Linked DNA regions of Homo sapiens: regions 2, 3, 4, 5, 6 and 7 are each linked to region 1. Evidence: promoter capture Hi-C in 16 types of primary human blood cells and fetal thymus (Javierre and others, 2016). All regions are on one chromosome and are shown on one strand. Each heading gives the region's core, a stretch centred on a gene start or on the middle of the fragment in contact. The rest is flanking DNA. Distances are from core to core; before and after follow the strand shown.

Region 1 (3,625 bases), core at 843-3,342:
GATCTTCTTCCATAACTAAGTTTTGTGGGTTTTTTTTCTTTTCTTTTCTTTCTTTTTTAGACAGTCTTGCTCTGTCATCCAGGCTGTGGAGTGCAGTGGTACAATCTTAGCTCACTGCAACCTCTGCCTCCCAGGTTCAAGCGATTCTCCTGCCTCAGCCTCCCTAGTAGCTGGGATTACAGGCGCCCGCCATCACACCTGGCTAATTTTTGTATTTTTAGTAGAGACAGGGTTTCACCATGTTAGCCAGGCTGGTCTTGAACTCCTGACCTCAGGTGATCCATGCACCTCGGCCTCCCAAAGTGCTGGGATTACAGGCGTGAGCCACCGTGCCTGGCCAAATTTTTTTGTAGAGATGGGATCTTGCTGTGTTGCCCAGGCTGGTCTTGAACTCCTGGCCTCAAGTGATCCTCCTGCCTCAGCCTCCTAAAGTGCAATAGGATTACAGGCAAGAGCCACCACTCCTGGCCCACTGCAACATTCTTGAAGCTCTCAAGTCTTCATCTGACACCTTGTCAAGATGGGGAACTCTTGTGTTAAACCATCCTGTTAAGTTACTGTATAAAAATAAAACTGCTCCCAAGCATTGATTGAAACTGTTTTGGTATGAGTTTCCTGAGAGAAAAGTGAGGCCCTAACCATTTTTTTCCATGAACTATGACCCCAGTACGGTATACCTAATGTCCTTCACAGCCTAACAAAATAGTTGAGGCAACCCTGCTCATCCTGTCTAGTTTATCAGTATTTAGATGTAAGGCGGATTTAAAGCTAATCTGGGACTGAGAATTGCAACTAATTCCATAGAAGTCATTCAATTTAGCACATAAATGTTCCTGCAAGATGCCAGAGCAAGTGAGAAATCATCTGTAGCAAAGCAAAGAGTGGTGATGGTTCATCACCTTTTACAACGGAAAGGCAAACATGAAGAAGGAAATTCTCCCTCCTAAAATTCCTCATTAAATCGATAAGCTATCTTCACAGCCTTTATGGATAACATCCAGAGTCCTCGGTTCATCTGAGGAGTCCATTTTCAAGGTGGCCAACAGGGAAGAAGAGCTTTCAGGCTTCTCTTTGCTATGGCTCATGAATGCCAGGTCCCCTTTATTGCTTTCTGAACACACTGCTGGGAAAGCTTGATGAGGTCAGTGCTCAAATCCCTGCAGCTGTCCCCCTTGAGGAACTTCTTGGCAAACCTGCATTGAAGAAACACTGATTGCGTTCACGCTTCATGTCATGGTTTGCCTTCCCCACACTGCTCCTGGCGACAGTGGTGACGCAGCACTCGGATGTTGTCACCTATTCATTATTTTTTCAGTTCTATTCCCAATTCCCAACCCTTCTTTTGAAACACAGCTAGGTATGTGCACTTCAAATGCTCCAGAAAAACCCAAGGTCACATTTCAAATAGGATGGTTATGGTCACCATAAAGGTGGTGACGTTTGAGTGGTGGAAGAGGGTGCGGGACGGCGTTGCAGGCAGAGGAACACAGCCAGGACACTATTATAAGTAACTCTGTGATCGTGTCTTGTGGTGATACAGTATAATTCAACACAGGTTAGAGCAGTTACTATGATCGTTCTTTCCTAAAAGGCTTTGATTTTGGAGAAAGAACCTTGAGGATCGGTGGGGACTTTCTTGGCCTGAAAGGTATCACCAGCAGCAGGAGCAGGAGGCTGCTCACATTTCGTGTCTTCACTTGGGGTGGACGTTGGCTGCAACCCTCAAATGCTGGGAGTCGTCAACCAACTGAGCCCTGTTGTCCAATGTGCCCCGGGCAAGGATGTGGGTGCAAATCCTGCTTCCGGGCGACCACTGACTTCCTTGGCTTCAGTGTCCAATTAGAAAAAAAAAAGAAAGTAGAAATTCGGTAAGAAATCCGTGAACGAGGTCCGTCCTCCACCCCCGACTCAAGCCAAGAGATAGCACAGAACGTTCCCACACGCGCTGTCCCGGCCCCGGCGAGCGTAGCCGGGATTTCTCCCCCGCCACGCCCCTCGGCCACGCCCCCCTGCGTTTGGCCCAGCGACGGGGCGGGGTCGGCCTGCGATTGGCCGGGACCACGACCGCGTCCGGGCGCGCCACGTGTGCGTAGGAGCGCACCGGAAGCGCCCGGCTGGAGGCGCGGCGGCAGGGCTGGGCGGCGGCGGCGGCGGCGGTCATGGAACGCCAAGAGGAGTCTCTGTCCGCGCGGCCGGCCCTGGAGACCGAGGGGCTGCGCTTCCTGCACACCACGGGTGAGTCGTTGCGGGGCAGCCGGGCGCGCGCCGCCACTTTTGCGACGCGCAGCCATGATGGGTGGGTCGTCCGCCGCTGCACCGGGCGCCGGAGCCTGGGAGGCCTGGGAACGGTCGGGCGTTGGCGCTTACGCGGACCTTGGGCAGCAGGCCCGGACCTTGCGCGGAGGCTTCTCGGGAGCCGCACTTCCCTGGGCGGCTCGGCTGTCCCTTGTTTGCGCAAGTCTTTTTTGCGAACCAAGCCCTTCCTGTGGTAGTTACTGGGGTCACTCGGCCGTTGGCGTTTGCCTCTGGGACCCGTCCCACACAGCCCCATACACACTCCTGACTCCCCGCGCTGTCACCCCTTTCTATGTGGCTCTGAAAGGCCTTTGCCTTCCTGATTCAGATTAGTTGCTCTTCATTCTTCAAAACCCAGTTGCTGTGCCCTCCACACTCTAACTGCCCCCGACTCCCCAGATGGTTGGGAAGTCTCACTTCTCAGTGATCCCTGAATTGTCGCACTTCTTGAGTTCGTGTTTTAACGATCTACTTAGGAGGCTTTTTCCTCAGCCTAGACCATGAAGGCTTTGAGGGCAGGAGTTACACTTTGTGTTTGTTGAGTCTTATGGAAAGGTCAACTAGTAGTGTCATTTTTAGTTTTTTGAAAACTGTTTTTCTTTTCAGTGGGCTCCCTGCTGGCCACCTATGGCTGGTACATCGTCTTCAGCTGCATCCTTCTCTACGTGGTCTTTCAGAAGCTTTCCGCCCGGCTAAGAGCCTTGAGGCAGAGGCAGCTGGACCGAGCTGCGGCTGCTGTGGGTTAGTGCCTGATAACCGAAATGAAAGCGGTGGTTTTGCACCTCCTTTATATTAAGAGTTAGTCTCTTAGTAAAAGTAAGAGGGGCCACACAGGAAGACCCTGTCTCTATTTAAAAAAAAAAAAAATAGCCGGGAGTGGCGGCACGCACCTGTAGTCCCAGCTGCTCAGGAGGCTGAGGCGGGATAATCACTTGAGTCCAGGGAGTCAAAGCTGCAGTGGGCTATGCTCGGGCCACACTACACTCCAGCCTGGGCAATTGATTGAGACCTTGTCTTTAAAAAAAAAAAAAAAAAAAAAGTAGGAAGTATATGGTTCTCGGTGGGGCGCGGTGGCTCACACCTGTAATCCCAGCACTTTGGGAAGCCGAGGCAGGAGGATGACTTGAGGTCAGGGGTTCGAGAACAGCCTGGCCAACATGGTGAAACCCTGTCTCTACTAAAAATACAAATATTAGTGGGGCGTGGTGACGGGCACCTGTAATCCCAGCTATTAGGGTGGCTGAGGCAGGAGAAATCGCTTGAACCTGGGAGCTGGAGATTGCAGTGAGCTGAGATTGTGCCACTGCACTCCAGCCTGGGCAACAGAGTG
Region 2 (3,625 bases), core at 455-2,954, 240 kb before region 1:
GAGAACTAAATCGAAAGAGAACTAAATCAAAATGAAAATTCAGCCTACCAAAATGCGTGGGATGCAGCTAAAGCAGTATGCAGAGGAAAATATATAGTCCTACAGGCTCATATTAGAAAAAAAGAAAGGTTTTATATATGCAACTTCAGTTTCTAACATAAGAAAAAATAGGAGCAAATTAAACTATTAAACTTAAAGCAGAAGAAAGGAAACAAGGTAAGAGTATAAATAAATAAAATAGAAAACAGAAATACAATATAAAAATCAAGGAAACCAACTTTACTATTTGATAAAATCATTAAAATTGATAAGCTTCTTGACAGGAAAATCAGAAAAAAGAGAGAAGATACAAACTATCAACAAGAATGAGATGTGACATCATTACAGACTCTACAGATATGAAAAGGAAGATAAGAAAATATTATAGATAACATTATGCCAATAAATTCAGCAACTTAGACAGATTTCTTGAATGACACAAGCTATCAAAGCTCACCCAAAAAGAAATCAAGATCCATAAAAAGGAATAAAGTTTGGATACATGCCGCAACGTGGATAAACCTTGAAAACTTTATGCTAAGTAAGCCAGACACAAAAGGACAAATATGGTATGGTTCCAATTATATGAGGTACCTAGAATAGACAAATTTATACAGAGGAACAGAGGTCACTAGGGGCTGGGAGGAGGGAGATATTGTTTAATGAATACAGAATTTCTGTTTGGAATAATTTTTTTAAGTTCTGGGAATAGTGGTAATGAACATTGTGAATGTACTTAATGTCACTGAATTATACACTTAAATGGTAATTTTGTGTTAAGAATATCTTATCACAATAAAAAAATCTGAATAGGCCTATATCTATTAAAAAATAAAATTTGCAAGTAAAAACCTTTCCTGAAAGAAAACTCCAGCTCTACATGACTTTCCTAGTGAATTCTACCATACATTTTAGGGAATAAATAATACCAGCTCCACACAAACTCTTTCAGGAAATCAAAGAGGACAGAATACCAACTCATTCTATGGAGCCAGGATTACCCTGTTACCAAAATCAGAAAAAGACAAGCAAATACCTGTCATGAGCATAGATGCAAAATTTCTTAATGAAACTTAACAAGCTGAATCTAACAAGAAATAGAGTGAAAATACTTCATTACCAAGTAGGGTTTAACCCAGAAATGCAAGATTGGTTTAACATTTGAAAATCAATTGATGTGGCCAGGGACAGTGGCTCAAGCCTGTAATTCCAGCACTTTGGGAGGCTGAGGTGGTAGGATCACTTGAGCCTAGGAGTTTGAGACCAGCCTTGGCAACATAGCGACACCTCGTCTCTACCAAAAATTAAAAAAAAAAAAAATTGACTGGGTGTGGAGGCTTGTGCCTGTAGTCCCAGCTACTCAGGAGGCTGAGGTGAAATGATTGCTTGAACCTGGGAGGTCAAGGCTGCAGTGAGCCATGATCACAGCGCTGCACTCCAGTCTGGGAGACAGAGTGAGACCCTGTCTCAAAAAAAAAAAAAAAGAAAGAAAAAGAAAAAGAATTAATCATATTAGCAAACTACAAAAGAAAAATCACTTGACCATCTCCATAGATGTAGGAAAAGTATTTAACAAAATCCGACTTTAATTCCTGATAAAAACTCTCAGCAAACTAGAACATCATACTTCATGGTGAAAACAGACTGTTCGAAACCACAAGAAGATAGCACTGCACACCTAGAAGAGTGGCGCAGATCCAGGGCACTGACGCCACCAAACACTGCCGAGGATGCAGAGCAAGAGGACCTCGCTCACTGCTGGTGGAAATGCAAAACGGTACAGCCATTTTGGAAGGTAATTTGGCAGTTTCTTACAAACTAACCACATTCTTACCACATAATTCAGCAATTTCACTTCTGGGCAGGTACTCAAATGAGCTGAAAATACTTATGCTGATATAAAAACCTGTGCACAAGTTCATAGCGGCTTTATTCATAATTCCCAAGTTAGAAGCAACCAAGACGTCCCTCGGTAGGTGAATGGACAAATAAACTGTGGTACATTATACAATGGAATATTATTCAGCACTAAAAAGAAATGAGTTACCAAGCTATCAGAACCTCTTTTTTTTTTTTTTTTTTTTTTGACAGCGTCTCACTCTGTCACCCCACTGGAGTGCAGTGGTGCAATCATGGCTTTTTGCAGCCTTGAATTCCTAAGCTCAAGCAGTCCTCCCACCTCGGCCTCCTGAGTAGTTGCAACTACAGACACGGGCCGCCATGCCCAGCTAATCTTATTTATTTATTTATTTATTTATTTATTTATTTAGAAATGGGGTCTTGCTATGTTGCCTGGCCTGGTCTCAAACTCCTGGTCTCATGTGACTCTCCTGCCTCAACCTCCTGAGTAGCTGGGATGACAGATGCAAGCCACCACACCTGACCGAAGGAAACTTGGATGCATGTTACCAAGTGAAAGAAGACGATCTGGAAAAGCTGCATACTGTATGATTCTAAATATATGACATTCTGGAAAAAGCAAAACTATGGAGACCGTCAAAAAGATCAGTGGTTGCCAGCAGTTCGGGGAGAGAGGGACGAATATGAGAAAAGAGGATTTTTAGGATGGTGAAGCTACTCTGTATGATTTTATAATGATAGATACACGTCATCATACACATGTCTAAGCCCACAGAATGTACAGGGGTGAATCCTAATGTAAACTATGGACTTTCGGTGATAATGATGTGTCAATGCAGGTTCATGGATTGTGACAAATGTACCACCATGGTGGGGGCTGTTGATAATGGAGGAGACTGTGTGTGGTGTGGGGGCAGGTATATGGGTAGTCTCTATATTTTCTGCTCAATTTTGTCTGTGAACCAAAAACTTCCTAAAAAATAAGTCTATTTTTTTAAAAAAGGAAAAGCAGCAACCATGTTTCAGTACATTGTGTTGTATCAAATAAAGTCACCACTCCCTCACAAGATTTCTTTTATGATTACGACTTTGTACCTCTAATAAAAATGATCTTTTGAATGAAAAAAAAACTTGAATGCTTTTCTTCTAAGATTAGAAGCACACTAGGGTGTCTTCTTCTGTGTGAATAGAAGCTTCTGTGCTTCTTTTATTCAGCCTTGTCCTGAAAGTTCTAGACCATTAAATAAAGCAAGAAAAAGATAGATGGGAAAAAGGAAGAAAAGTTGTATCCAAATGGAAATAAAGAAGAAAAACTGTCTTCATTTGCAGACATGATCGTCTATGTAGAAAATCCTGAGAGAACCTACAAAATAAACTACTAGAACTAAGAAGTAAGTACAACAAGTTTGTAAGATATAAGATTAGCACACAGCAGAAACTCAAATGCGTTTCTATACATTAGCAATTAATAATTAAAAATTGAAATTTTTAAAAATAATACCATTTACAATAGCATGAAAAATACAAAATACTTAGGGGAAAATCTAACCAAAGGTGCATAAGACCTTTCCACTAGAAACAACAAAACATTGCAGAAAGAAATTAAAGAAGATCTAAATCAATGGAGAGACATGCCATGTTCATGAATCAGAAGACTCAATATTATTACGATGATACTTCTCCCCAAGCTGATGTATACATTTAGCATCAAAATAATCAAAATCCC
Region 3 (3,625 bases), core at 598-3,097, 240 kb after region 1:
ATGGGGTTCATTACATATATTGTAGTCCTCCCTTATCTGCAGTTTCTTTTTCATGGTTTCAATTACTGGTCCAAAAATATCAAGATATTTAGAAAGAGAGAGAGAGAGACCACATTTATGTAACTTCTGTGACAGTATATCATAATTATACTGTTTTGTTGTTATTGTTGTTAATTTCTATGTGTTGTTAATCACTTACTGGTTTACAATTAAACTTCATCATAGGTATGTAGATAAAGGAAAAGGCATAGTATATGTAGGGCTCAATACTATCGCAGTTTTAGGCATCCACGGGGGTCTGGAAATCCACCAGCTGTGGATAAGGGGGACTACTGTATAGAAGAAACGTGGATGACAGCAAGAGTACAGAGGGTGCTGGGAGGAGTAATGTCCTGGTATCGTGCTAAGGTTTTTGCATTTAATTCAAGGTGGTATAATATTAATTACAAGTAGATTGTGATAAGGTAAGGATGCATATTCTAATCCCAAGAGTAACCACTAAAACACAGTACCAGGAAGAATGGCCAAAAACCCAACAGAGAGCATGAAAATACTAAAATAAAATTTAACTCAAAAGAAGGCAGGAAAGAATGAACAAAATAACAAAATCAGATGGTATAAATACAAAATAAATAGAGAAATAGTAGGCTTAAACCCAACCATATAATTAATTATGATAAATGTGAATGAATCAAATATTCCTATTAAAAGGCAGAGATTATCAGATTGGATAATGTGCTGTCAGCAAGAGATTCCTTTTTTATAGAGATCATAACCTGCTACTAGAAGAATAGGGAAAAAACCCAGGTAGAACTAAAAGAGCTGGTGTGGCTATTTTAACATCAGACAAAATAGACTTCAAGAAAAGGAGTATTACCAGTGATAAAGAGAAACATTGTATAATGAAAAAAGGGTCACTTCATTACACAGGCATGACACCAATGTGTATATGTAACCAATAATGGCTTCAAAATATATAAAATAAAGCCTGTCAGAACTGGAGAGAGAGGTAGACTTATCATTAGATATTTTACCATCTCTCTCTTAGTAATTGATAGAATGAGTAGGAAAAAAATCAGTGAGAATACGGAAGATTTGAACACGTTGTTTACCACTCTGAGCTAATTAAGGTTTATAAGATACTACAGCCACAACACAGAAAACTCGTTTCTTGTGTGCACTCCAGACTTTCACTGGGAAAGATCACACATTGGCCCATAAAATAAGTCTCAGTGAATTTCAAAATACAGAAATCTTAGAATATATTCTCTGACCAAAATAATATAAGATATATTAGAAAATCTTTCGAACTAAATGATAAAAACACAACATAGCAAAATTAGTTGTATTTGTCATATAAAGCAGTGCTTAGAAAGTTATGGCTTTAAATGCTTACATAGAAAATAGGAAAGGCTTAAAATAAATGACCTAAGCTTCTACCTTAAGAAGGAAGAACAAGAAGCACAAATTAAACCCAAAGTTAGCTGAAGGAAGACAATAATAAAGAGCAGTAATAGATGAAATAAAAGAGAAAAATAATAGAAGAAATCAGCAATGGCAACGGTTCGTTCTTTAAAACGGTTCCAAAAATTTGATAAACACTTAGCAAGACTGATCAAGAAAGAATGAGAGAAAAGACATATTATTAATATCAGGAGAGAGAGCATATCACTACACATTCCAGAGATATTTTAAATATCTTTATATTAATATATTCTGCACCATAGATGAAATGAAAAAATTTATTGAAAAAAAAATAACTTACCAAAACTGACACAAGAATAGAAAATTTTAATAACCCTATAGCTAATAAATAGATTGAATTTGTAATTAAAAATCCTCTTGTGAAGTAAACTCCAGGCTATAAATTCTATCAAACTGTTAAGGAAGGTCTAACACCAATCTTATACAAAATCTTGAAGAAAATAGAGAAGGAAAAAAATCTTTTCAATTCATTTTATGAAGACAGCCTATGTCTGATAACCCATAAAGACTTTTCATCAAAGTACCAACCAATATCCCTCATGAACATAGATTAAAAAATTCTTATGCAAAATAGGAGCCACTGAAATCTAGCATTAGATAAAAAAGATAATAAATCATGAACACTTGGTATGAATCTTGGGAATACAAAGTTGGTTTAACATTTGAAAATCCATCAACATATTTAACAGAAAAATAACTGAAGAAAAAAATTAACAGAGGCAGAACAAGCATTTTTGGGGGACAAAATTCAGTACCCATTTATGATAAAAGCTTTTAGCAAACTGGGAATAAAAGGGAACTTCCTCAATCTGATAAAGTTTCCATGGATAACAAAGCTCTGCAGAAAACATCACACTTGATGGTGAAAGACTGAATGCTTCCCCCCTGAGATCACACAGAATGACGCCTTCTCTCATCCCTTCTATTTAAACCTTCGCTAGAGATCCGAGCCAATGCAATCAGGCAAACAGAGCAAAAAAATATGTGAAGATTAGAATGAAAAAAGTAAAACTGTCTTTTTTTCAAAAAAGAAGCATACTTAGAAAATCCTGAAAAATCTACTGGAGCTAATAGGTGAATTTAGCAAGGTTTTTTGATATAAGGTAAATATTTAAAAATAAATTATATTTCTGTATACCAGCAACAAGAAATGGAAATCAAATTAGAAGATATGTCATTTACCCATATCGGAGAACATAAATTATGTAGACACAAATTTAACAAAAGATGCAGAAAATCTGAATACTGAAAACAAACCACCGTGGAGAGAAACTTTTTAAAAACCAAAATAAATGAGAGATATACCATGTTCATATTGGAAGATTCAATATTTCTAAGATGTCAGCTTTCTTTGATCTATAGATTCAATGTAATCTCCATAAAAATCACAACGGTTTTTTAAGAATCAGACAAGCTGATTCTAAAATTTAGATGAAAATGCAAAGGATCTAGAATAATCCAAAATAATCTTGAAACAGAAGAACAAAATTGGAGGGTGTCATATGCTGAATAATGAGCCCCAAAATATCCAGGTCCTAAACCCTAGAACTGTGATTGTTACCTTACATGGAAATAGAGACTTTGTAGATGTGATTAAGTTATGGACTTTGAAATGGGGGAAAGATCCCACATTATCTGGGTGGACCTTAAGTGCAGCCACAAGTGTGCTTAAAAGATGGGGGAAGAGAGAGATTTGCACAGAAGAAGGCAAGATGGCCACTGGCGCAGGGTGCCATGCTGCTGGGAGGGACGGCTTCAAGATGGCTGACTAGAGGCATTTCAGACTTGCCTCTGACACTGAGAAGAGGCAAAATAGTGAGTAGATAATCACACGTTGAATAGATCATCCAAGAGGGAACACTGGAATTCAACAGAAAAGTGACAGGAAATACCTAAGGCAAGGAAGGACAAGGAAGCAAGGCAGCCTGCTAGGCTGAGAGCTGAGAGAGACTCCCCAGTGTGGGGAAAGGTAAGTGAGAGATCCCCAGTGGTCGACATTCCCACTCTGGACTCCTGAAATCCAAGGCACAGGAGAGCCCCTCACCCTTTGTGGGCCCTGAAACTAACTGATGGGAGATTGTGCAATGGCACTGCTCGGAGGGTGCTCACTCTAGGTCTCACACTCTCTGAGACCTGAGCA
Region 4 (2,500 bases), core at 1-2,500, 210 kb after region 1:
AGATATTACTGAATTTTTTAAAGTGATAAACAAGATTATTATGTGCAAACAAACAGGGCCTGTGCTCCAGCTGCGTCCAAATTTACTTGACAAAGCTATAAACACAAGGCCCTTTCTGAAGTCCTGCTGATTGAGTTTCCCCTTCCTTTTGTCGGTGGAGAGGAATGTAAAGGCTAAGCGGGTGCACTCGGACTGTGTGCCTCTGGGCTTGCTGGCGGTGGCACTTAAAGGAACTCATTCATTCTCTGGATGGGGCAACACTCCTCACCCGGGATCCCCCAAGGGCTTTCCCACACGGAGACCTTCCCGAACACAGAGACATCTGATCTTGGCTTGCCCAAGCTGGCCCAGGCCTCGGGGACTCAGGAGCCTGTGGAATGTGCTGAGAGCCTGAGGTCTCTGGCGGGGAAAGGGCAGGGGTCACAGCCCCCCTCCTGCCCTACCTCAAGTGCTTCCCAGCGGAGGGCCTCTAGTGTAATTCCATCTGAGACCTGGGGATGGCAGGAAGGCCCGGCCCTGCTTTGTTTGACCCAGCTCAGAACAGGATCCTGCACCCCTGCTCCTGCAAACTGATGGGGGAGGCCAGAGGAGGCCGCTCCCAGCCTGATACCACTGTCTTCCCTGGGGCTGTAAAATCAGCAGTTGGGGGATGGGGTATTCAGAGAACTCTGCTCCAGAGAACCAGAGAACCCTGGAGCCACCGCCAGGCGAGTAACTTCTCAGCACTTCTTAGCAGCAAGGAGTTCAGGGGAGAACTCCATCTGTCTTCTAGGTCCTTGGAGAACTAGAGGCCGATGGCAGAGGGGTCAGGCTGCAGCCCCGGGCCAGCCAGCTCTGATGTGTGACAGTCATTCCACAGGAATTACCTTCTCTTGCGAGTGCAAGCCTCCAGCCGGCCCAGCTCCTCGTAGGACTGGTAGAAAATGTCGAACTCCCTGGCGCCCCAGCCCCTCCAGACGGCCAGGCACCACTCTGTGTTTTCATTTTCAAAGGTGCACACAACAGTGTCCTTTGCCACCACGGCAGCATCCACCAGCACCCTGCAGAGAGAAGGGGGTCTGAGGAAACTCACAGGGGTTCCCACTCGGGTGGGGTTGGGACCCTCCCCCTGTGCCTTCTGAGGAAGGCGGAGCTGGCTAAGGGCAGGGGAGTGTGTCTGCTTGCCAGCCCTCTCTGGGGTGTGCTGAGATGCACCACTTCTCCCCAGTGGCCAGCCTGTGGGCTTAGGCTTTATAAAGTCCAAAGACGGGCTGTGGGCATGAGTTCGCGTCCATGGGCTTTGTCTGTAAGAGTCAGACTCCCTGGAAGGCCACAGAGGCAATCAGATCATGCATCCTTGACTCAGCTCCCAAAGCGTCCAGAAAACACCACTGACCCAAATTTCTGCTTGTGAATGGCTCATGACCGAGTTTAACTCAACTCCCTTGCCACTAAGCTCAGTAAGATTCTTCTCTCATTCTGTTTCTACAGGCTTAGGAAATACAGGATCATATATTAAATGGAAAACCTACTGCCCCAAAGTCATCACTATATACATTTTTTGAAACTGTGGACAGTTTTGCAGGATCGGTGGGTGTGTGCTACAGGTTTCCTTTTGGGCCACAGTGTGGCCTCCCTGCCCTGGTGGTGCCCCACCCCAAGCACATACTAATTGCCTTTCCTCCCTCTGTGTCCCGTGTGTGCGGCCTGCGTGGCACTGAGGTGCTCCTGCAAACTGGGATGTCCAGGGACCTCTCACTCCGCGTGGCCTTGCCAGGACCTCCCCTTAGGGGAGGAGCCTCCCTCTAGCGAGAAAGAGGTAAAATCTGGCTTTAGGGATGAATAGGAGAAAAACAACAGCTAAACGTTAGGACATTAATGGCAGGTATGCCAAGGTCCTAACCTGGGTGCTGCACACCCATTTCCTCCAGAAGCCCGACCTGCAAGCTGGGAACTCCATCAGTTCAAGGCTTCTACCCACAGGCTCTGCCAGAGCTCAGGAGCAGATCCAGATCTTGCTTCCAGAACCACTTACAGAGTAAGGGTCACTGGCCCAGGACTCACTGCAAAAGTTCAAAGCTGGCAGGCAAGGGAGTGCGACTGCCAAGGATGTCCTTGTCATTGTCCTGCTTTGGGAGAAGCAAGCTGACTGGTGTTTCTCCACCCTCTTATGCTCCAGATGAAATAAAAACCCACTTGCCCAGGGATGGGGGATAACTCATGCTGCAGGGAAACAGGCCTAGTGTGAAATGGAAGAGCTCCAAAGTACACACACACACACACACACACACACACACACACACACACACATTTGAACTGAGGACTTTTCGTAGGGGAGATTTACCGTGTGGGGCTCGGTAGTCAAAGTGCGGGGTGTAAACACTGTGGGGAGCTGCAGCTGGCGCCAGCCTCACATCACTGCAACCATGTAGACCATGTCCCGGACAGGCCACCCTGCCCAGCATACCTTCACAGAGGAGACTGGCATAATCCTGGGGGTCCCCACCCACAGACAGGTACT
Region 5 (3,625 bases), core at 459-2,958, 180 kb after region 1:
AGTAGCTGGGATTACAGGTAGGCACCACCACGCCGGCTAATTTTTGTATTCTCAGTAGAGATGGGTTTTTGCCATGTTAGCCAGGCTGGTCTCAAACTCCTGGCCTCAAGTCATCTGCCTGCCTCGGCCTCTCAAAGTGCTGGGATTACAGGTGTGAGCCACTGCGCCTGGCCTTTTTTTCATTATTTTTAATTGACACATAATTGTATGTATTTGTAGGGTATGGTGTGATATTCTGATACATTTATACGATGTGTGGTGATCGTATTCGGGTAATTAATATATCTGTCACCTCAAACACTTATCATTTCCTTGTGTTGGAAACATTTAAATTCTTCTCTTCAAGCCATTTGAAAATATATAATAAAAGAAATTGTTACCTGTAGTCATCCTACAGTACTATAGAATAGGGTCCCCAACCCCCCGGCCACAGACTGGTCCTGGTCTGTGGCCTGTTAGGAACCGGGCTGCACAGCGGAAGGTGAGAGGCAGTGGAGCGAGCGAAGCTTCATCTGTATTTACAGCTGCTCCCCATCACTCACATGACCGCCTGAGCTCCACCTCCCGTCAGATCAGCAGCGGTGTTAGATTCTCATAGGAGCACAAACCCTATCGTGAACCGCGCAGGTGAGGGATCTAGGGTGCACGCTCCTTATGAGAATCTAATGCCTGATGATCCGTCACTGTCTCCCATCACCCCCAGAAGGGACCGTCTAGTTGCAGGAAAACAAGCTCAGGGCTCCCACTGATTCTACAATATGATGAGTTGTATAAATATTTCATCACATAGTCCCATGTAATAATAATAGAAATAAGTGCACAATAATTGAAATGCGCTTGAATCATCCCAAAACTATACCTCCAACTCTGGGGGATGCGGAAAAATGGTCTTCCACAAAACCAGTGCCTGGTGCCAAAAAAGGCTGGGGAGGGCTGCTCTAGAACGCTAGAACTCATTCCTCTTAGCCAGCTGTAATTTTGTATCCATTAACCAACTTCTCCCCATCCTCCCTCTCCTCCTACCCTTCCCTGCCTCTGGTAACCACTTTCCTGTTTTCTTCTTCCATGAGACCCACTGTTTCAGCTTCCACATGTGGGCGAGACCGTGTGGTATTTGTCTTTCTGTGCCAGGCTCATCCACGACAGAATTTCATTCTTGTTTTTTCTGTTATCAAATTGCTCAGTAAGGCGACTTTCCTGTTTACCTAACCTTCCTTTGGCGGTGCATGAGAGGTGAAATTTCTGTACACCCTCACTAACATTTGATATTATTAGTCTTTCAAAATGTTCACAATCAGGTGGGCAAAAAGTGGTGCCTTTAGTAACTAGGTTTCATAGGCTTCATCTGTAGATGGGATCTTTGCTGTGGGTCTTTGCTTCATCTGTAGATGGGATCTTTGCTGTGGGTCTTTGCTTCATCAGCAGATGGGATCTTTGCTGTGGGTCTTTGCTTCATCAGCAGATGGGATCTTTGCTGTGGGTCTTTGCTTCATCAGCAGATGGGATCTTTGCTGTGGGTCTTGGCTTCATCAGTAGATGGGATCTTTGCTGTGGGTCTTTGCTTCATCTGTAGATGGGATCTTTGCTGTGGGTCTTGGCTTCATCAGTAGATGGGATCTTTGCTGTGGGTCTTGGCTTCTTCGGTAGATGGGATCTTTGCTGTGGGTCTTTGCTTCATCGGTAGATGGGATCTTTGCTGTGGGTCTTTGCTTCATCAGCAGATGGGATCTTTGCTGTGGGTCTTTGCTTCATCAGTAGATGGGATCTTTGCTGTGGGTCTTGGCTTCATCAGTAGATGGGATCTTTGCTGTGGGTCTTGGATTCATCAGTAGATGGGATCTTTGTTGTGGGTCTTTGCTTCATCGGTAGATGGGATCTTTGCTGTGGGTCTTGGCTTCATCGGTAGATGGGATCTTTGCTGTGGGTCTTTGCTTCATCGGTAGATGGGATCTTTGCTGTGGGTCTTTGCTTCATCGGCAGATGGGATCTTTGCTGTGGGTCTTTGCTTCATCAGTAGATGGGATCTTTGCTGTGGGTCTTGGCTTCATCAGTAGATGGGATCTTTGCTGTGGGTCTTGGCTTCATCAGTAGATGGGATCTTTGCTGTGGGTCTGCAGAAAATGCCCTAATCAAGTGAAGGAAACAACAGCTAAAATGTTCTCTTCTCCTACTCTGCCTCTATCTATTGAGAGGTTCGGGTCATCTAGTTTTTCCTACTCTACTAAGCTAACGTAGTGAGTCTTACTGTCAAGCAAGTCTTGCTTACCTGGGATTAAATGCTACTTGGTCATGATGGGTTATTCCTTTACTATGCTACTTGATTTGATTTGCTAATATATTAAAATATTTGCATACATGATCATTAGTGTGCTCTCTTTTCGTTTTGGAATTAACCTTATATTATCCTGCAAAATACGTTAATTCACTTTCTAGATTGTTGTATGCTCCAAAGTAGTTTACCTAACATGATAATTACCTATCTTTGAAGGTTAAGCAAAAAGTGTCCCGGGTGCTGTGGCTCACGCCTGTAATCTCAGCACTTTGGGAGGCGAAGGTGGGTGGATCATGAGGCCAGGAGTTCAAGACCAGGCCGGTCAAGATGGTGAAACCCTGTCTCTACTAAAAATACAAAACAATTAGCCAGGCTTGGCAGCAGGCGCCTGTAATCCCAGCTACTTGGGAGGCTGAGGCAGAGAATTGCTTGAACCTGGGAGGTGGAGGTTGCAGTGAGCCAAGATCATTCCACTGTACTCCAGCCTGGGCAACAGAGCAAGACTCCATCTCAAATAAATAAATAAATAAAAGTCTATAAAAACAGCTGGGCCCAGGCATTTAAAAAAATGTTCGGTCTTCTAGTTTAGTCTTTTATTGTCTATGCAAATTCTTTGGCTATTGAACTATCCAAGCTTTCTCTTTTTAAGCTTTTGGGGAATAGGTTGCAATACATTTCTTGTCTACTGTTTCTCTTAGTGTTTTCTAATTCTAACCCACTGTTTTTGGAATTTCTATTAGATGGTTTTGCAACTTCTGCATCTATCCTCCATGCACCTTCACATTTCCTTCACAGTTTTCGTGCTGTTTTCCTTGTGTGCTACATTCTGAACAGGACTTTGGCTTCAAACTCCAGAAACTTGCTCTTCAGGGGGCTCCACTTTTCTCCTTGGCTTTCTTGAGTTTTCCTTTTAACAATCATATGTTTAACAATCATATGTTAAGGTCTTTAGTTGGTTCCTTTTTTTTTTTAACAGTGGCCTGATCTTTATTTCTCCAAATACATTAATAGACTTTTTTTTTTTTTTTTGAGATAGGGTCTCACTCTCTTGCCTAGGCTGGAGTGCAGTGGTGCAATCTCAGCTCATTGCAACCTCCACCTCCCAGGTTCAAGTGATTCTCATGCCTCAGCCTTCCAAGTAGCTAGGATTACAGGTGTCCCCACTATGCCTGGCTAAATTGTGTATTTTTAGGAGAGACAGGGTTTCACCATGTTGGCCAGGCTGGCCTCGAATTCCTAGCCTCAAGTGATCTACCCACCTCGGCCTCCCAAAGTGCCGGGATTACAGGTGTGAGCCACCATGCCCGACCAACATACTTCTTTTAAAATCTCCATTTCTTTGTAATAAGAACT
Region 6 (3,625 bases), core at 341-2,840, 180 kb before region 1:
GGAATGGTGTGGCATCTCGAAAGAGGGCCAGAGGGCAGGAAAAGGCTGGGGCAGGGACCAGAGGCCCTGGGAAAGACCCCTCTTTAGAAGAGGGGCAGGAGAGAGTCTTCTGAGGGGAGATGAGAGAGAGCCCACAGAGAGGAGGACACGGAGGGGTGGGGTTGGGTAGGCCCAGGCCATCGTGGGGGGTCTTCCTGGGCAGGAGAGGGACCTGTGTGACGGTTCATAGGGGCATAGTGGTGGCCATGTGGCTGTGTGGGGAGGAGGCCCTCAGTTCAGTGTGGGGCCTGGGATAGTGGGTGGCAAACATCAGATGGAATTTCACAGAACCTAACGCACATCTCTCTCCCTCGAGGTGAATTTTTCTTTACAGACCTGTGAATCTAAGAGATGATGTAACGCCTGAACTCATTTTATAACATCAGAAGTTTGCGACTTAAAAATGTTTCAGAAGGTGGGGGCGTGGGCTGTCTAGGGTTCTAAGGAGAACGTGGTTGAAACAGCTGCCTAAAGGGACTGAGGGTGTTGGAGGACCCGGTGGCAGGCGCATGGATGGAGGACCAGGAACCACCAAGGTCACCATGGGTGGGAGGCATCAGGGTGAGGGAGGGGTGTTGGTGAGGGGCCCAGCTGGAGCTGTGTTCATAGTTGCTGGGATGGAGGGGACAGGGCAGGATTCAGGGTGTCAGCAGAGTCAGTTACCTGGGAGGCGTGGCACAATGGTGATGGAGGAGGGGGAGCCCAATGATAGTGCAGTGAGGAATGGTGGGGGGGACGGGAATGGTGGCAGCTGGTGGTGTGGACTTAGGGTGGGGGGACGGGAACGGTGGCAGCGGGTGGTGTGGACTTAGGGTGGGGGGACGGGAATGGTGGCAGCAGGTGATGTGGACTTAGGGAGAGGAGACGCGGAGCAAGCCGGGAGAACTGGGTGGGCCTGGATTTGTCCTTTCCTGGTAGGATTACTGTGGCCACAGAATTTATTGTGCAACCAGGATGTTTCTAGGAAGTAAAAGGGAGAGCCTGGACACTTACAGCTGGGCAACAGGATGGAGGAAGCCAGCACACACATGATTCCCTGTGCAGGCACGTAGGGGCTTTCAGCTAAGCCAAGGGTGTGTGAGGAAGCACCAAAGGTGCAGAGGAGTTTCTCCCTTGTTTTGGCTTCAAAATAGATGTTTGTATATAATAGGGATTCCCAAGGGCTCAGTGGGCGGAGCTAGCAGTGAGGCTGGGAGAGGAGAGGTGGCCTGGAGAGGGTTTCTCTTCTGTCCGGAAGCCTTTCTCCCTTGGCTGAGAGAAGCTACACACACGCCACTTCTCTCTGAACACGTGGCTCGTGAACCACAGTCCTACAGCTGTCAGTAGTAAAATCCAGGCCCATCCAGCATGCTTGCGGGATGTCGGGGTGGTTAAATGAAATGGAAGGCAGTTTGTTTTTTCCAAGTGAGATGGATGTGAAGGAATTAGGTAGAAGCTGACAGAGGTATACCCAAAACTGCTAAATTTAGCCTGGATTCAAGAAAGAGGTTAGAGAGGTGGCATTGTGAGTAATTAGACGCGTCGCAGAGAGCGTGAATGATTGACAGAGTTTGTGTCTGTGGTTGCCGCTGGGGAGAAACAGAGCAGAGTGGGAGTCTTCGGAAGGAGCGAGGAGCCAATCTGCTGGGTATGTGGAGCCTTTGGGACCGTCAGTCGCGCTTCGGGTGCTGGGGTCTGTTTGCGCTGGAGAAGATACACATGGTGAAAGGGAGAGTGAGGCACAGTCCCTGGAGACAGACGATGGTCTGTAAATGGTGAGCAAACAACAGTCAGGAGCCTTGCTGGAGTCTGTACCAAGGGCCCTCCTAAGAAGCCGGGTCCTGTGGGGGTCCAGTGACTGTGTACAGCCCGGGGGTCCAGTGACTGTGTATAGCCCGGGCCACATTGCCCAGCTCGGGTCTCTACGGCATTTGGGTTTATGCCTCAGCTCAAAGCCTTGCGGAAACCCCTTTCAACATGTGCGCTGTCTGCTGCAGAGACTCAAACCCACTGGGGCAAAGCGAACACACAGCACTGGAGTTGGGTTTCACGTCCCTATCACCACGACCTGTGCCCACCAACCTAGAAATAGTTGGGTGAACTTGCTGGTTGTTTGCTGAGATAGTGCACATGGCAGTCACATAGGTCTTTACTGTGTCTTGCCTGATAGCCCAGCATGAGTAGAACAGCCATGGAGACCTCTGAGAGAGCAGGACGAATGTGTCTGACCATGTTGTTGCAAGCCACCTAAAACGTGGCTGGACCCAGCTCCACCTCTGGAGGGACGTACCACGGGCAACCATCTGTGAGGGTATTGCAGACACCAGATGTCAGCGCTGGTAGGGGGTAAGCAAACATCAGATGGAATGTGAGCATAAGAGATGACATAAGGCCAGAATGTGTTTTACAAAATCAGAAGTTTTGGACTTAAAAAATGTTTCAGTCTGGAATTGGACAGATAGCGCAGGCTCATTTTATGGATAAGAAATAAGTTAGTTTCAAGAAAATGGATTGCCAGACACGAATGGTATTGCACACCCAGAGGGGTGGCCAGGGCTGCCTGTGTGTGGGCTGTCCCCGGCACAGCTCCTCGGCTCCCCTCTGCCCTGCACCCTGTACTGTTCACCTTGGCCCTGTATGGCTCCGTCTAGGTGGGATTATCTTCCCCACAGGGGCCACTGATAAAGAAGCACTCTATATATTTTTAAGAATTGAAATCAAAGGGCAAATGGGATTTCTCTAACTTTGCAACTAGCTTTATTGCAATGCACTTCCCCCCACAAAGGGAGCTGCATCCTTGTTCTTTTCTTTAAGAAATACTATGAAAAAACCCAGCTGACCAGCCTGCGCCCTGGGAGGCTGGGGCTGCTCTCTGTGTGCCAGGCCGTGAGCCGAGCATTCCATATGCATCACGCCTCATTTATCCCCCTAGAAACCTTGGGCAAGGAAATGCTGCTAATCCCAATGCATGGAAAGGGAAGCTGAAGAGAAATTTAGGAACTTGCTCAGAGATCCTTTTCACTTAAACAGAGGAGTTGGGATTCAGATCTGGGTAGTCCTTGGCTCCAAGGCCCAAGACCTCAACTGCTGAGTTGAGATTTTTATTTATTTATTTATTTTTATTTATTTATTTATTTTTGAGATGGAATCTCACTCTGTTGCTCAGGCTGGAGTGCGGTGGCACGATCTTGGCTCACTGCAACCTCCGCCTCCTGGTTCAAGTGATTCTCCTGCCTCAGCCTCCCAAGTAGCTGGGATTACAGGTGTGCACCACCACACCCAGCTAATTTTTTATATTTTTGGTAGAGACGGGGTTTCACCATGTTGGCCAGGCTAGTCTCGAAATCCCGACCCCAGGTGATCTGCTTGGCCTCCCAAAGTGCTGGGATTACAGGCATGAGCCACTGTGCCCAGCCCAAGCTGAGATCTTGATACTCCCTCTGGAGTGTCCTTGGTCATGCAAGGCAAGGCCTGGGGTCCCTTCATTGCTACCTCCTTGCCTCCCTTTGACCCTCACCTTGTGTATTCCCCCTTTCTCTCCCCGGCTCCATCTTGCCTCGAAAGACGAGTAGAGAAGATGTTCCCTCCACTGCTAGGACTCCAGCTT
Region 7 (3,625 bases), core at 338-2,837, 150 kb after region 1:
CAATTCCCTAGCTCCAGGGTTAATAAACTTCACATATGCTCAAGAGCAATTGCGTTAAGAAATGTTGCTTCCACGTAATTACTAGCAAAGTGCAGCATCAGCAGCCATTCATCCCTCACACATGTGCAAATTTACTGCAGGGTACATTCCTAGGAGTGTGTGTCATGGAGGACGGCTTGGCAGCTAGCATTCTGTGTGCTCTCCTCGCTGTTCCTTCAAAGGCTGGAAGGTGAGCCACTGCTTTTCCCGCTTCCCTTGCCGCTAGAGTTCTAAATGTGAAATGGGTTATGCCCGGTGGTCAATGTTTAACAACCAGCTCTCAAAAAAAAACAAAAAAACAACACAAAACAAAAGCAACCCGGCTGTTAGTGCTTGCTGATTTCCATGGTGTAAATATATCCACTGTGGTCAATTTCAATCTTGCTATCCCCTGGTGTCCCTGGACCTGGAATTGGAATTGCCGTGCACCGTTGGCTGTCACTAGGCTGAGCCAGCTCCAGCACATCCATAGTCCTGCCAATTCTTCGCACACCACTATGATTCAGAGGCCAAGACTCTCCTCCTGCTGCTTTTGGCCGTTTCTGCTGGCGAGCAAAGTTGTGGTGGTTGTTTTTCCTGTGGCAGCGTTCCAGGGTCCATTCAGTCCCTTTGTGGGGTCAAGAGGCAGGTATGGTACAGCACTGGGAGCCTCCCGACCCCCACCTGGCTGAGTGGAGTCAGGCTAGCAGAGCCCAGCCGGCTGGTCCCCAGGCCTTTTTCCGGGCACCACGCCAATAGGCCTGGCCCATGCCTCTCAATAAAACGGTAAGCCCCTAATTTCCTGTCTAAACCCCTTTTTGCTTAAAATTGTTAGAGTGGTTTCTGTTTCCTGTAACTAAACCCTGGCTGATGTAAAGTGGAACCTGAAACTGCATTTTTTTTTTTTTAAAGCAGATGTACGTTTTCCTTAGGCTTGTCTCCTAATCTGTCTGTGCAGAAGGATTTTAATGCGTTGTGAGGCCTGGGAGGACAATAATGAGTAAATTGGCACTCATTAAGCTTTGTAAATCTGAGAACTCTGGAGACAAAGCATCTGAGTGAGCTGAGAAGGGTGAGACCCACTTCTAGGGTCTGTGAGGCCCTGTCCTCTTAGCACTCCTTCTGCCAGGCCCCGGCAAGGCTGTCTGTGTTCACCAGGCAGAGGCTAGGCTGTAGGATGCTGGCGTTAGTTAGGGAGAAACTGGATTTTCTTAGATCCACAGAATCAGACACAAGTCATGAGACTATGTCATTTAGTTTGCAACTCCAAATGCTTTTGAGGCTGAGTTAACTGTGGGACGTCTCTTTGGATTTACTCTCAGGCAGGGCTCCTCCCTGGGGAGCAAACTACTCCTGAGGTGAGATGGGGGAGAACAGATGTGTACCAGTGATCCCAGCAGCCTAGGGAGGAGGCCCGACTTGCAGAGGCATTCTTTCAGCTCATTAAAGAGCACCCTCTTTGATAAAGGCAATTACCTCTTGGGAAAGAAGCCTGTTAGCAGCCCTCAGAACCTGGGTGTGAATGAATTTCCAGGTTCTTTCCAAGCTGAGAGCAGGTAGGTACTGCGAGGATGAGGCACAGCCTGGGTAAGTCTGGCAGCCGGAACTGTGGGGAGTAGACCCACCCACGGTCACTAATAAGAGGGGCTAGTCGGGACTGTGCCCTGAGAAGTGGGAGCTGAGCCCTGCAGAACCAGCTTCTAGGCTCTGTCCCCTCCTGCTGGCCCTTGGATAAGCCTCTCTGGGCCCCCTGCTTTCTCATCTGTCAAATGGGGATTATATTACCTAGCCTCATAATGTTCTCCTGCGGTGGGTAAAATGGAATCTTCAAAGCGCTAGGGAAATAGAAAGTGAGGGCGGGGTAGTGGGAGCTGTGGGCCTGGGTTCAGGCAGCGAGGTGACACACTGTCACTGAAGTCACAATAATAAAATCTACTAAGTCAGACGACTGGTGTTTTTGTTGCTGTTGTTTGTTTTTCTAATTACCAGGCATGATTAAATACTCCTGCCAGGGAAAATATTTTGTTGATCTAAATTCTAAACAATTGTGAGGGTTTATGTATATATATATATACTTCAAATCAACATGATTTTATTTATTATCCTTTGATAAGCTTTGTATTCCAAGTGAAAGTTAATTTCAGAACTCCCAGGTATAAAGTCGGTCCAGAAATGTGCTTTTCAAAAGTAAGTTGTGAGCCGTCTGAAGCCACTTTGGACATCATTCACGTCTCCAGTGCCCCAGGGTGCTGTGAATTCCTACATTTAAACAGCAGATTTGACGAAGCAACAATAGCACAGTGATCGGAAAGAGGAAGATTCGGAACTTAAGTTACTTCAATTCTGTATTCTGTGTGACCATTGAAGTCTTGTTTGTGTTTAACATTTAAAACAGTATAAGAGGCCAGGAGCGGTGGCTCATGCCTGCCGGTAATCCCAGCACTTTGGAAGGCCGAAGTGGGCGGATCACAAGGTCAGGAGTTCAAGACCAGCCAGACCAACATGGTGAAACCCTGTCTCTACTAAAAATACAAAAAATTAGCTGGGCGTGGTGGCAGCCGCCTGTAATCCCAGCTACTCGGGAGTCTGAGGCAGGAGAATCCCTTGAACTCAGGAGGCAGAGGTTGCAGTGAGCCGAGATCGCGCCACTGCACTCCAGCCTGGGTGACAGTGTGAGACTCAGTCTCAAAAACAAACTAACAACCCCAAAAAACAGTACAAGAGCACAAACTGCAAGGTGAGGGGACATTTTAGTTCATATATGAAATATTTTACTACATTGGAATGATATATTTAAAATTGGAAACATGTTCTTTTTAAATTATTAATTTAAAACTAAGGAACAAATCAAGAAAATTAAATATTAGAGAAAATATAGTAGTTGCCCAAGTTTTATCTTTTGCAGATGTTTTGTCTCATTTACTGAAATATAATTGATATACCATAAAATTCACTGTTTTAAAGTATACAATTCAGTGTTTGCTTTTTCTTTTTCCTTTAACCGTACTCACAAGGTTGTACAGCTTTCACTGCTATCTAATTCTAGAATATCTTTGTCACCTGAAAAATAAACCCCATACCACGAGCAGTCACTCTTCACTTCCCTCAGCCCTGGGCAGCCACTAGTCTATGTCTTCATGGATTTGCCTATTCTCAGAATTTAATAGAAGTGAAATCATATAATAGGTGACTTCTGCATTTGGTTTCTTTCCCTTAGCGTAATGTTTTCAAGGTTCTTCCATATTGTAGCATGTCAGAATTCCCTTCCTTTTGCTTTCCTTCCTGAATCATATTCCCTTGTATGGCTATACCAGATTTTCTTCTCCATTCGTCAGCTGCTAGGCATTTGGGTTATTGTCACCTTTTGGCCATTGTGAATCATGCTCCCATGAAGATTCATGTAGAAGATTTTGTGTGAATGGAGGTTTTCATTTTTCCTGGGCATAGACCTACGAGTGGAATTGCTGGTCATGTGGAAACTATGTTTAACGTTTTGAACAACCGCCAAGGGATTCGTCCTTTTGTGAGTGTATATCCAGTCCCAGCAATTTCTCCACATCCTCACTAACGCTTAGCTGCCCTTTAAAAATTAGAGTCATTCTAGTAG

Evidence for each region. Contacts are between HindIII fragments. The CHiCAGO score rates a contact against its expected background, and 5 or more counts as called.
Region 2: a fragment that was not itself captured here is called in contact with the fragment with the promoter of SELENOS in region 1 in 1 of 17 cell types (M0 macrophages); the score reaches 5.5 in M0 macrophages.
Region 3: a fragment that was not itself captured here is called in contact with the fragment with the promoter of SELENOS in region 1 in 8 of 17 cell types (M1 macrophages, M0 macrophages, endothelial precursors and 5 more); the score reaches 12.9 in M1 macrophages.
Region 4: a fragment that was not itself captured here is called in contact with the fragment with the promoter of SELENOS in region 1 in 6 of 17 cell types (M1 macrophages, M0 macrophages, megakaryocytes and 3 more); the score reaches 8.1 in M1 macrophages.
Region 5: a contact is called between a fragment that was not itself captured here and the fragment with the promoter of SELENOS in region 1, in 6 of 17 cell types (total B cells, erythroblasts, activated CD4 T cells and 3 more). The highest score is 6.9, in total B cells.
Region 6: a contact is called between a fragment that was not itself captured here and the fragment with the promoter of SELENOS in region 1, in 1 of 17 cell types (monocytes). The highest score is 5.5, in monocytes.
Region 7: a contact is called between a fragment that was not itself captured here and the fragment with the promoter of SELENOS in region 1, in 7 of 17 cell types (total CD8 T cells, activated CD4 T cells, total B cells and 4 more). The highest score is 8.4, in total CD8 T cells.

What each region holds. Positions count from the first base shown.
Region 1 is chr15:101,275,952-101,279,576 of GRCh38, reverse strand. It overlaps SELENOS (selenoprotein S), which reads left to right and starts at 2,092. Exons shown (of 6, transcript NM_018445.6): 1 at 2,092-2,235; 2 at 2,902-3,036. The coding sequence starts at 2,160. RefSeq lists a silencer at 1,887-2,216. The HindIII fragment of the contact is 1,843 bases long and covers 1,135-2,977 here.
Region 2 is chr15:101,512,648-101,516,272 of GRCh38, reverse strand. No RefSeq gene overlaps it. Among named protein-coding and RNA genes, the nearest start is that of PCSK6, 25 kb to the right of the region's middle. The HindIII fragment of the contact is 2,780 bases long and covers 315-3,094 here.
Region 3 is chr15:101,038,411-101,042,035 of GRCh38, reverse strand. All of the region lies in intron 20 of LRRK1 (leucine rich repeat kinase 1), which reads right to left. Among named protein-coding and RNA genes, the nearest start is that of LRRK1-AS1, 110 kb to the left of the region's middle. The HindIII fragment of the contact is 823 bases long and covers 1,436-2,258 here.
Region 4 is chr15:101,067,211-101,069,710 of GRCh38, reverse strand. LRRK1 (leucine rich repeat kinase 1) reads right to left here. Exons shown (of 34, transcript NM_024652.6): 34 at 1-1,040. The coding sequence ends at 863. All of the region lies in intron 1 of LRRK1-AS1 (LRRK1 antisense RNA 1), which reads left to right. Among named protein-coding and RNA genes, the nearest start is that of LRRK1-AS1, 83 kb to the left of the region's middle. RefSeq lists enhancers at 1-181, 182-847, 1,512-2,177. The HindIII fragment of the contact is 4,126 bases long and covers 1-2,500 here.
Region 5 is chr15:101,094,241-101,097,865 of GRCh38, reverse strand. The region is part of intron 1 of LRRK1-AS1 (LRRK1 antisense RNA 1); the gene reads left to right. Among named protein-coding and RNA genes, the nearest start is that of LRRK1-AS1, 56 kb to the left of the region's middle. The HindIII fragment of the contact is 2,400 bases long and covers 509-2,908 here.
Region 6 is chr15:101,456,704-101,460,328 of GRCh38, reverse strand. All of the region lies in intron 1 of PCSK6 (proprotein convertase subtilisin/kexin type 6), which reads left to right. Among named protein-coding and RNA genes, the nearest start is that of PCSK6, 31 kb to the left of the region's middle. RefSeq lists a silencer at 3,535-3,625. The HindIII fragment of the contact is 6,142 bases long and covers 1-3,625 here.
Region 7 is chr15:101,124,903-101,128,527 of GRCh38, reverse strand. All of the region lies in intron 1 of LRRK1-AS1 (LRRK1 antisense RNA 1), which reads left to right. Among named protein-coding and RNA genes, the nearest start is that of LRRK1-AS1, 25 kb to the left of the region's middle. RefSeq lists enhancers at 503-672, 883-992, 1,283-1,332 and a silencer at 1,623-1,672. The HindIII fragment of the contact is 1,094 bases long and covers 1,041-2,134 here.